2 separate regions of the Homo sapiens genome follow, and region 2 is linked to region 1. Evidence: promoter capture Hi-C in human tissues and cell types (Jung and others, 2019). All regions are on one chromosome and are shown on one strand. The core of a region is centred on a gene start or on the middle of the fragment in contact, and the rest is flanking DNA. Distances in the headings are between cores, read along the strand shown.

Evidence for each region. Contacts are between HindIII fragments. The study calls those that stand out against the background at their distance.
Region 2: a fragment that was not itself captured here is called in contact with the fragment with the promoter of LARP6 in region 1 in 1 of the 25 tissues and cell types used here (spleen).

What each region holds. Positions count from the first base shown.
Region 1 is chr15:70,852,242-70,857,347 of GRCh38, forward strand. LARP6 (La ribonucleoprotein 6, translational regulator) reads right to left here and starts at 1,916. Exons shown (of 3, transcript NM_018357.4): 1 at 1,648-1,916. The coding sequence starts at 1,847. It also overlaps a transcript of LRRC49 not described here. RefSeq lists an enhancer at 1,305-1,806. The HindIII fragment of the contact is 12,354 bases long and covers 1-5,106 here.
Region 2 is chr15:69,463,337-69,468,442 of GRCh38, forward strand. No RefSeq gene overlaps it. Among named protein-coding and RNA genes, the nearest start is that of LINC02896, 3.1 kb to the left of the region's middle. RefSeq lists an enhancer at 5,007-5,106. The HindIII fragment of the contact is 4,515 bases long and covers 466-4,980 here.

The DNA of each region.
Region 1 (5,106 bases), core at 666-3,165:
ATTTTCTGGGGTCAACTCTATGCCAGTGGGCAGCAGGAAGGGCTTCAGACTGAACACTTGCTGAGACTCAAGCCACGGGAGCTGGGCAGTTCTGGAGGAAGAGCAAGAGGGGTTCAGGCAAGAGGCCTACCCATACTGAGGCTTGGTTTCTCCTAGACCTCCATAGGGGATCTTTCCAGGCCTTAAACATAAGTAGAGCTTTAATCCTGGCTAATGATACAATCTCACAAATTTAGCCCTCAGGATAGGGATGGCTATTTGCCACTGCCACAGGAAAATAAAGTTATAAGGATAAACCACTTGGGGCTATTTTACATACTCTGATATTGTCTGACTAGGGGACTGCCTTCTCGAGACTGTGAGCTGTCAGTGACTAAGGGTTCATCATTTTTATGCTCTCGGTACTTGGCACAGAGCTAAACGAATCAGGCCTTGCATTATAAAGCACTGATCTATCTACTTTGTCATACACTATGGTCCAGCTTTCCTGCCCTACCCTGGTGGGCTGACTTTTCTCCCCTAACAACTGTCTCTACTGGTCTGCCCCGAATCTCTGGGTCCAGAAGTCTGACCCTTTAACCTGGGGAAGGGTGAGCCAGTAATAGAGAATGGCTCTGGGCCCAGTATTCTTCCACCCTTGAGTTGAGTATTCTCCCAGTGAAGTAGATATACGCTTGCCAGGACAATCCTGCAGAACCTTAACAGCTAAACGCCTGGGACAGGGTCCTAGAAGAAAGAGAGCTCCTAATAAGTGCCTGTTGGCATCCACCAGAATGTGCAAGTTCTGTCATTTCCCCACTCTCATGTCTATGTCTATGTTTTATCTCCTTTCAACAGCAGGAACAAAACACCAGTCCTTAAGGGCCTGGGCATTAGTGGACAGGAGCCAAGGTGCCTGAGGACAAAGCTCGGGACCCGGGACAAGGTTAAACAAGTGCCATAGCAGCTCCAAACTACCCAAAACCCAGGAACACCCCCCCCCCGCCCCCCGCAAGGCAGCAAGATGATGCAAACATAAAGGTCTGGTGGGAAAGGCTGTGTGAAAATGGGAATCCCCCAGGGCGGAGGAAGTAAAGCAGCAAGTCCTCTATCCGTCTCAAATTACCTTGAAATCCCACCTCCTGGAATCCCCCATCAGCAAGTGTCCGCTGTACCTGGCCTGCTACCACCTAAAGACTGAGCGCAGCCAGCAGGACTGGGAAAGGCAGGGCGATGATGGCAGTGAAGGGTAAGCGGGACCACTCGCAAGGGGAGGGGAAGGCGGGTAGGGATGGACTTTGCGGCGATGGGGAGGTGGTGTCTTGAGGGAGCCCACAGAGAAGAGGCCTCCTCCAGAGGAGGGGGTGGCTTGGATGGCCCGTGAAAGTCCTCCTCCTGGATCCCTGAACATCCCCACGTCCAGGCCCCTCAGATCCCGGCCGCCAGCCCTGGGAGCCTCGGTTGGGCGACGAAGCTGCGGGCTGGGGCACCGGCTGCCTCCACGGGCCGGTTCTGACTCAGGGGCTCGGCCCGGAGCTGCTTCCCCGGCGGCGGGGCTGACTCAACCCCCTCTGCCCGAGGAGTTGTCGCGCGCAGTCAGCGCCCCGAACTCGCGCGCGGCCCGGCGCCCCCTCGGGGCCCACCTCCCGGGCCAGCCGCCGCGCCTACCTGTGCCCGCGGCTCGGCTCCTCCTCGCTCGCGCTGCCCCAGCCGGGGCTGAGGTACCGGGCCGGGTCCCCGGCGCCCCGAGTCTCCGCCCCCTCCTCCTCGTCCTCCAACTCGTCCACGTCCTCGGCCTCCTGGATGGCGACGCGGATCTGCACCGCCGTCTTGGGCCCGGGCCGAGCCTCCCCGCCGGACTGGGCCATGGCTCGCGGGACTGCGGCGCCGCCGGGGTCCTCACGCCGCAAGGCCCAGCCAGCCGGTCGGCAGCGACTGCGACGAGGGGGCGGGGGCGGTGCGAGCGCGCCTGCCGCTCGGCCCAGGGGAGGGACAGGGGTCGCGGCGCCCCGCCCCGCGCCGCCGCCGCCGCCGCCGCCGCCGCCACCACCCCGACCGCTAGTGGAGCGCCCGCGCAGGCGGGGCCTCGGAGGTGGAGGGCGGCTTTCCGGAGCTCCTCCGACGGAGGCCCGTCCCGGAAGGATCCCCGCGACCCCCGATCACTCCCTCCGTCTTTTCGCCGCTGTGGGGCCCCAGCCCGAGAGGAGGTGTCAGGGCTCCCTCCTCCTGCGCCTTCTTTCACGGCGCCGCAGGGATGGGCGCAGCACAGCTGACTTCTGTTTGTGCTTGACTCCGGGGGTGGCAGCCAGAGACCACAGCTCCAGGGGCTTCCAGGCCTCCTGCGTGTCTCCCCCACTGGCCTGCCAAGATCAGAAAATTTCCATCGTTAGTCTCCTTGACATAATAACCACCCTAGACCGCGTCTTAGGAGGTCAGGGGCTTGGCTCCTGCCTTGCCCTGTATCAGTTTTTCTCCAAGTGTGGTTCCCAGACCAGGAGCATCAGCTGCACCGGGGAACTTGTTAGAAATTGAATTCTCAGGGCTCATCCAGACCTCCTGAATCAGAATCTATGATTCAGAACTTTGTGTTTTAACAAGGCCTCTAGGTGATGCTGAAGTTCACAAAAGTTCGAAAGCCGATGGCCTATAGAGTATGCCCTGCACATAGTATGCACTCAGATGTTTGTTGAATGAATAAAGGGAGCTATTGAAATGTCAGGATGTTCTAAAACACTGCCACCTTTTCACGTGTAACTTCAAATTGAGTTCCATCTCACCTCTCCAAATGTGACCCAGAAACTAGGGACAGGAGCATAGAAATGAATAAGACCGGCCGGGCGCAGTGGCTCAAGCCTGTAATCTCAGCACTTTGGGAGGCCCAGGCGGGCGGATCACGAGGTCAAGAGATCGAGACCATCCTGGCCAACATGGTGAAACCCTGTCTTTACTAAAAAAAATACAAAAATTAGCTGGACGTGGTGGCACGTGCCTGTAATCCCAGCTACTCGGGAGGCTGAGGCAGGAGAATCACTTGAACCTGGGAAGCAGAGGTTGTGGTGAGCCGAGATTGTGCCACTGCACTCCAGCCTGGGCAACAGAGCGAGACTCCGTCTCAAAAAAAAAAAAAAGAAAAAGAAAAAAAAAGAAAGAAGGAAAGAAGAAAAAGAAATGAATAAGACCTGAATCTGCTTTCATGTAGCACTTTATTTAGAGCCTTAAACATAATTTATCATATTAATTTGCCACACTGGGACCCCAAAACAACAGAACCCTGGACCAATACATTTGTTTTGATATAGAAAGACAAGTTAGGATAGGCTTAGGAAATGAGGTCTCCTGGAGGGCAGTGTCCTTGTAAAAGAACACCATGTATAGGGTCCTGGGTGTCTGGGCAGGGCTGGGGAGAGACCCAGGGGCCCAGCGAGGACAGCCCCTCTTCTTAAGGACACTAGAATCTGTGTCCCTTTCTTTGTCGGACCTCTGTTTTGATAGAAGAGGTCCTAAAATAAGTAAGTAAAGGAAGAGAGAGAGACCTTTGGTGCTATTGCTGTTTCTGCACCAGAACAGCTCACAGCCCTGGATCTGAGCTACTGGGAAAGGAAGAGGCAAGAGGCTGACAGTGTCTTTTTCCAGCCAGCTGTGCCTCCCTCCAGGGCTATAGATCCTCTGCAAACACCTGTGATGAGGCTCAGAAGGAAAGAGCTGCAGCAGCCACCATGCCTTCCAGTTTGATAATTTCGGTTCCTGAATTTCACAAAGTGATACCCATTATCTATCTCATTTAAGCCATCTCGTGTGGCAAAGACATCAGGGGTTGTTATCCTTACCCACAATGATGGCTCACATTCATCTCAGGTTTTATAGTTTATGAACAATTCATACATGTCTTTTCAGGGTTTCCAAATGCCTGATCATAAGAGTCCCCTGGGGACTTTTCTTAAAATATAGATTCTGAAAATACAGTTTGAAAACTGACAGTTGGTGGGTGAATCTGGGCTGTAGAAGCGTTTTACTTGGTGAGAGTTTTGAAAAAAAGAAATTGAATTTATATGTCCTTACATTCAAACATATCTGCCTATGTTGTTTCTGTTATTACTTATTTCTGACTCCTCATAAAGGAATTTTGGATCTAGAAAGAATGTCAGACATCATCCAGCTCGGAGCTGCTCCTGGTAGGGAATGGGTAGTCTGGCAGAGTACCCAAGAATGGGTACTCTTAGGGGTACCCATTAAGTCATAGCATAAATATGGGGCATCTTTCTGGGGTATCAATTTTACTTAGCTATTTGAGAGAACAGCCACAATGTATATATTAAAACAACTTGGAATATCTGTGAAATCAAATGCAAAACTTGCACGGAATGTTTAAGGCAACTCACATAAGTTTCTCATTTATAGTAGTTGGCTTAGAATAATGCCTAGAGGAGCGGAGGACAGAAACCCTCATTTGCACTAGGGGTATTTCATGGGAGAAGTCCAACTCGATCACGTTTGCAATGAGGAGAGTGAGTCCCAGTGAGGCTTAGAGGGAAGGGCCTCTTCTTCCACTTTGTTGCACCCGATTTTGTCTAGCAGGGAGCCTTCATCTAGGAACACTTGCTGATTTGCTTTGATTAGTCCTACCCACATACCCATCATTTGTGTCACTGGTGAAGAAACCAGGGCTTTTAAAGGGCTCCTTTCGATTTCCAGCTTATTCCTCCCCAGAGCCGTGGCAGGGGAAGGGAGGCCAGTCCCACCCAGGCCTGTCTTGAACATCATTGCAGGGAGTTTGCATCACCACTGAGATGATTAGCAAAGCCTCTTTAAACAAAATCATGACCTCAGCCTGGAGTTGGCATCTTTCCCTTCCCTGGAATCTTGACAGCTCATTTTCATAGTAAACTCACAAGGGGAAACAGCTTTTTCCATAGCTCCTGAGGATGAAACAAAAGGAAGCACATTGACAAGCCATCAGGATGGACTGAGATTAGGTTGAAGGAAAAACTCAACCCTAGAAGACCTTTCCAGTATATACAAGGGTGTTGTTTGGAATCAATTGGAAATATTTTTGAGTGTGCCTGGCACTACAGCTGGAAACCAAGGACTTGGAATAAGATATTGTGGTGAAGCTGGGAAGTTGGGACA
Region 2 (5,106 bases), core at 1,473-3,972, 1.4 Mb before region 1:
CCCTCCAAGGCCCACCGAACCAGCCCCTCGAGGCAGCCACCGGGAATTTTCATAAGCTCTTCTGATGAGCGGGAGGATAAGTCAGTCAGGGCTGGAAACTCCCGGATCAGAGCAAACCCAGCTCCTCAGCACCTGAGGAGAAGACGCGTAGTCAATATGGTTTGAAATAATGTGTAAATGAATATATGAATGAAGAGCTGTCTTCAAACGTGGAAGGAAAAGTTAACAGTTTGATAAAAAGCCATATTGACAAACCTGGGAAAATGGGCTGTTGGTTGATTTGGGTGTAAATTCCTATAACGTTTTTCTTCTTTCTTTTCTTCTTTACTCCTCCTCTCCCTCCTCCTCCCCTACCCCTCCTTTCCCCTCCTCCTCCTCTTTCTCTTTCTTCTTCTCTTCTTTTTTTTTGAGACAGGATCTCACTGTCGCCCAGGATGGAGTGCAGTGGCATGATCTCTGCTCACTGCAACCTTGAACTCTGGGGCTCAAGCGATCCTCCCGAGTAGCCGGGATTACAGGCACATGTCACCACGCCAGGCTACTTTTTTTTTTTTTTTTTTTGGTCTTTTCTAGAGATAGGGTTTCACCATGTTGCCCAGGGTGGTCTTGAACTCCTAGGCTCAAGTGATCCTCCATCCTTGGCCTCCCAAAGTGCTGGGATTACAGGCGAGAGCCTCCACACCCAGCCCCTTAATGTTTCATTCTACTATTTTATTAAAGACTGAAAACCACAGTTAATAATGTGGGGATTTTGAATTTTTTAAATTTACTTTTTTTTTGAGACAGGGTCTTGCTTTGTCACCCAGGCTGGAGTGCAGTGGTGTGATCAAGGCTCACTGCAGCCTCGACCTCCTTGGGGCTCAAGCAACCTTCCTGCCCCAGTCTCCAAGTAGCTGGATTACAGGTGGTGAGCCACTGTGCCATCACTACAAGTTCCAATTTTTTTTTTTAATTTTTAAATGTTTTCTTCAGCCTGTTTGAGTTTGAACTACTACAGTTTTGTTTTGTTTTTTTTTTTTTTTTTTTTTTTTTTTGAGATGGAGTCTTGCTCTGTCGCCTAGGCTGGAGTGGAGCGGTGCGATCTCAACTCACTGCAAGCTCCGCCTCCCGGGTTCACGCCATTCTCCTGCCTCAGCCTCCCGAGTAGCTGGGACTACAGGCGCCCGCCACCACGCCCTGCTAATTTTTTGTATTTTTAGGAGAAACAGGGTTTCACCATGTTAGCCAGGATGGTCTTGATCTCCTGACCTCGTGATCTGCCCGCCTCGGCTTCTCAAAGTGCTGGGATTATAGGCGTGAGCCACCGAGCCCGGCCAGAACTACTACAATTTTTTTAGGGTCATTTGGTCCTCTCTCTCAAAAGTGCGCTTACCCTCTATCCAGGAATTTCATTTGTAGGAACCTATGCTATGTACAATTTCACTGAAGTATTGCTTGTATTAGAAAAAAAGTATGGATGATAGGCAGGTTGAATAAATGTTAATGTTTTCATGTAGCTATGTATAGGAATGCCGCTATGGAAAGACATCCAGGACACCTTGTTAAGTGAAAAAAGGTAAGTTGCCACCAGTATGCATAACATGACCCTATTTGAGTAAAAAAATAAAAAAAATGTGCATATGTTTTATAGTATTAAAAAACTTCTGGGAGGATTCAAGAGTAATTATAGTGGTTACTTCTGAGGACAGGGATTGGATGGGGTGGAAGAAATATTTTTACTTTCCAGTTTATCCTTTTTATATTGCTTGAATTTTTAAAGACCATGAACATACATTACTTTTCTAAATTAAAAACACTGGTTTTGATTTTTTAAAAATTGGAGAGGGTTTCATGTGGAAGAGAGACTCAACTTCCAAGTAGTTCTAGAAGGAAGAACTCTGACCAGTTTTGAGACAGTTTTAGGTCAAAATAAGAAAAATAAGGAAAAGCTTTGCTAGGTGTTAGGCTGAGGCTGGGATATGGAAGACAGTGTTGCTCCAGGAGGAAGTGAACTAGATGCTTCCTCTAGCTATGAGATCATGTAAGTCTTCTGGGACACAGGGTTAAATGCTCTGATATCAGACTACCTGGGCTGGCTCAAATCCCATTGCCGCTAAATAGGGCTGTGTGACTTTGAGTGAGTTATTTAACCTCTCTGTGCCTCAGTTCCATCATATGCATAGTGGGGATCATGTTGACACCTACCTCATAGAGTTCTTTTAGAATTAAGTGAGATGGCACATATAAAACAGCATAGTTACTGTTCAAAAACTGTTGAGCTTTTCTTTGCTATCTCATATGAATTGGTGGCTAAAAAGTTAAAAAGTGGCAGGGCACGGTGACTCACTCCTTTGGGAGGCCGAGGAAGGTGGATCACTTGAGGCCAGCAGTTGGAGACCAGCCTGGCCAACATGGCAAAAACCCACCTCTACTAAAAATACAAAAATGAGCCGGGTGTGGTGGCGTGTGCCTGTAGTCCCAGCTACTCAGGAGGCTGAGGCATGAGAATTGTTTGAACCCTGGAGCTGGAGGTTGGAATGAACCAAGATTGCGCCATTGCACTCTATCCTGGATGACAGAGAGAGACTGTCTCAAAAAATAAAATAAATAAAATAAAAAGGAAATCAAAGAAACAGTTTCTACAATTAGAAAGGCTGTTTTATTTTTACACCCTTTATGGAGAAGGTCAAATATTGGATTTTCAGAATTAATGGAATTATTGGGTTGGTAGAATTTCATACATGCTGGATGGCTTTGCTGACAAAAGGAATTTTTGTTTTCCAGATGCTGGCTCAGTGTTGCCCCATAGTGGCCAATCCTGGGAAGGGCTACTGGGGTTGACCCCTTCACGCTAGAGTGCTTCTAGGCTAGGGTGTGAGTTCCACAGTCAGAGCTGCCTGGCTGCTTGGCCGAAGGATGAGTGAGTCAGTCCACACCTTAGTAAGGAAAGCATGTTTGTGTGCCCTCCCATGACCCAGCCAAGAGGAAACCAAGAGCACTTTAATATGGTCTTCCCTCCCTTGTAATTTACTTAGCACGCTTCACTTTGCCTCTGCAAATGCTCAAGTTCATTTCTTGTTTAAAAACAAAGAAAGATGTCACTGAATCACTGTGCAATCTGGTGCACCCTTGGTTTTCCTCAAAGGTTGTTGGAAGAAAAGGCCACATGAAAACCATTTCTGCTTTTGCCAGAAAACTTGAGCAGGCTCTTATATTGTTATGGTCTCCTAAATAAGGTCTCATGTGAAAAATTCTTGTAAAATTTAGGGGCAGGAGAAAGTTTGTGTCCTCTGGGGCATTAGTCTGCATCCTCCTGTATGATAACGAGAGCTCTGTGACTTCACACTCTCTCTTCTCTGCTTCAGCTGCTGAGAAATTCAGTACCAGACCAGGTGCCCAATCTCAGTAATTAAATTAACCCAAATGGATAAGGTGTTTACCTCCTCCTCCTTTTCTTGGTACTGATTTTTAAAATAAAAATTTTGGCAGCTTTTTTATTGACTTTACTGCATCGTTGTACTTTGATCTATACTCAAATTCTTTTGAGAAAGAGGAAAGGAATTCACAAATTAAATGAAAAATTGAATATTGGAAGGTTTTTTTCTGGTGGCACGTTAAATGAGATATTAAGTTAGTGGTTGTACTTGGGTTTTGAGACTAACAAGCTTATAGGTCCAAGATTTCAGGTCATAATTTTTCTTTACTTGGGAAAATGAGAACCTCATGCATATCAGGCCATCAAAGAAGTTGTGAGGTGTGGTGAAAAGACAGAAAGCAGTTCAGGCTTGTTTTTTGTTTGTTTGTTTGTTTGGAGATGGAGTCTCTCTGTCACCCAGGCTGGAGTGCAGTGGCATGATCTCGTCTCACTACAACCTCCGCCTCCTGAGTTCCAGCGATTCTCCTGCCTCAGCCTCCCGAGTAGCTGGGACTATAGGCGCGCACCACCACACCCGGCTGATTTTTGTAGTTTTAGTAGAGACGGGGTTTCACCACGAGGCTTGTTTTTTATCCACTGTCACCAAGGATAATATTGAATCAGTGTGAACATTCAGAGACCGAAAAAGCTAGAAGCCCTATTCGGACCCAAAATATTTTCCCTCTGCTGTCATTTCAGACATGCCACCATTAGGGCTTCATTTCCCTGCAGTCTTCTTTAAATACCAAAACTGCCCTGGGAAGGATAAGACATCAGTTTCTTCATACTTCAGAGCAAATGGGATTGATTCCCAGGACCTCCTTTCTGTGGACTGGGTTTTTGCCTCCTCACCAAGAGACTGGGCTCCCTGGGCGAGCAGAGGCTGCTGGGTAAGAGAGATTTAGTTCTGTTTCAACAAGCTGTGGGGCCTTCGACAAGCCCCCTGACCTCTCTGGCCCCTGGTGTCCTCACGTTGCCATGAAGGGCTTTTGAGGATGCTCCAGCTCCCACATGGCCAATCCCGACTCCCCTCCCAGGGCCCCTGTTGGGCCCTGCGGCAGGTGCCAGTGGAGTCACCTTCCAGCCCGGCGGGGCCCATTAGCTCCTTGCTCTGTTGACTCTCAGGTAAAACCTTTCTTGTGTTTACTCAGCAAAGATTCTTTTAAGACGGGCTAAGCACACGGTTTACTCTGCTAACAAGCCTTGGCATTTATTGTGAGGACCTGTGTTGACTTATTCTCGAGTCTCCATTGACACTCACTGAGAAACGTTAACGCAAACACAAGGAGACATCCTGGGAGCTCTGAGGCCCGACATTGTGCTGGGGAAGGAGCTCCAGAAAGGGCCATCCTTTCTGTTTTGGTTAGAATCACCTTGAGAGTTAAAAATAACAATAATATAGGCACCATAAGAGATTCTAATGATCTCCTTTTACTTTTTAGGTTCAGTATCTGAACACTTTTGCTAAAGGTCTCTGGAAAGCTCCCTGTGTTAATTCTCGATGAGACTACGTCTGTGCCGGCCGCTTCCTGAGCCTCCTTCCATGTGCATAGGCCTGCTGCATGCTGGAGACCTGCGGCACAGCTGCCAAGTGCCCCGTGTGGTTCTGTGATCTTGGGACAGTCACTTCCTCTCTGTGGTTGTCAGTCTTCTCATCCCTAAGGTAAGGGGACGCTGTCTCCACGCTCATCTCCTCAGCTAGACTGGGGCCT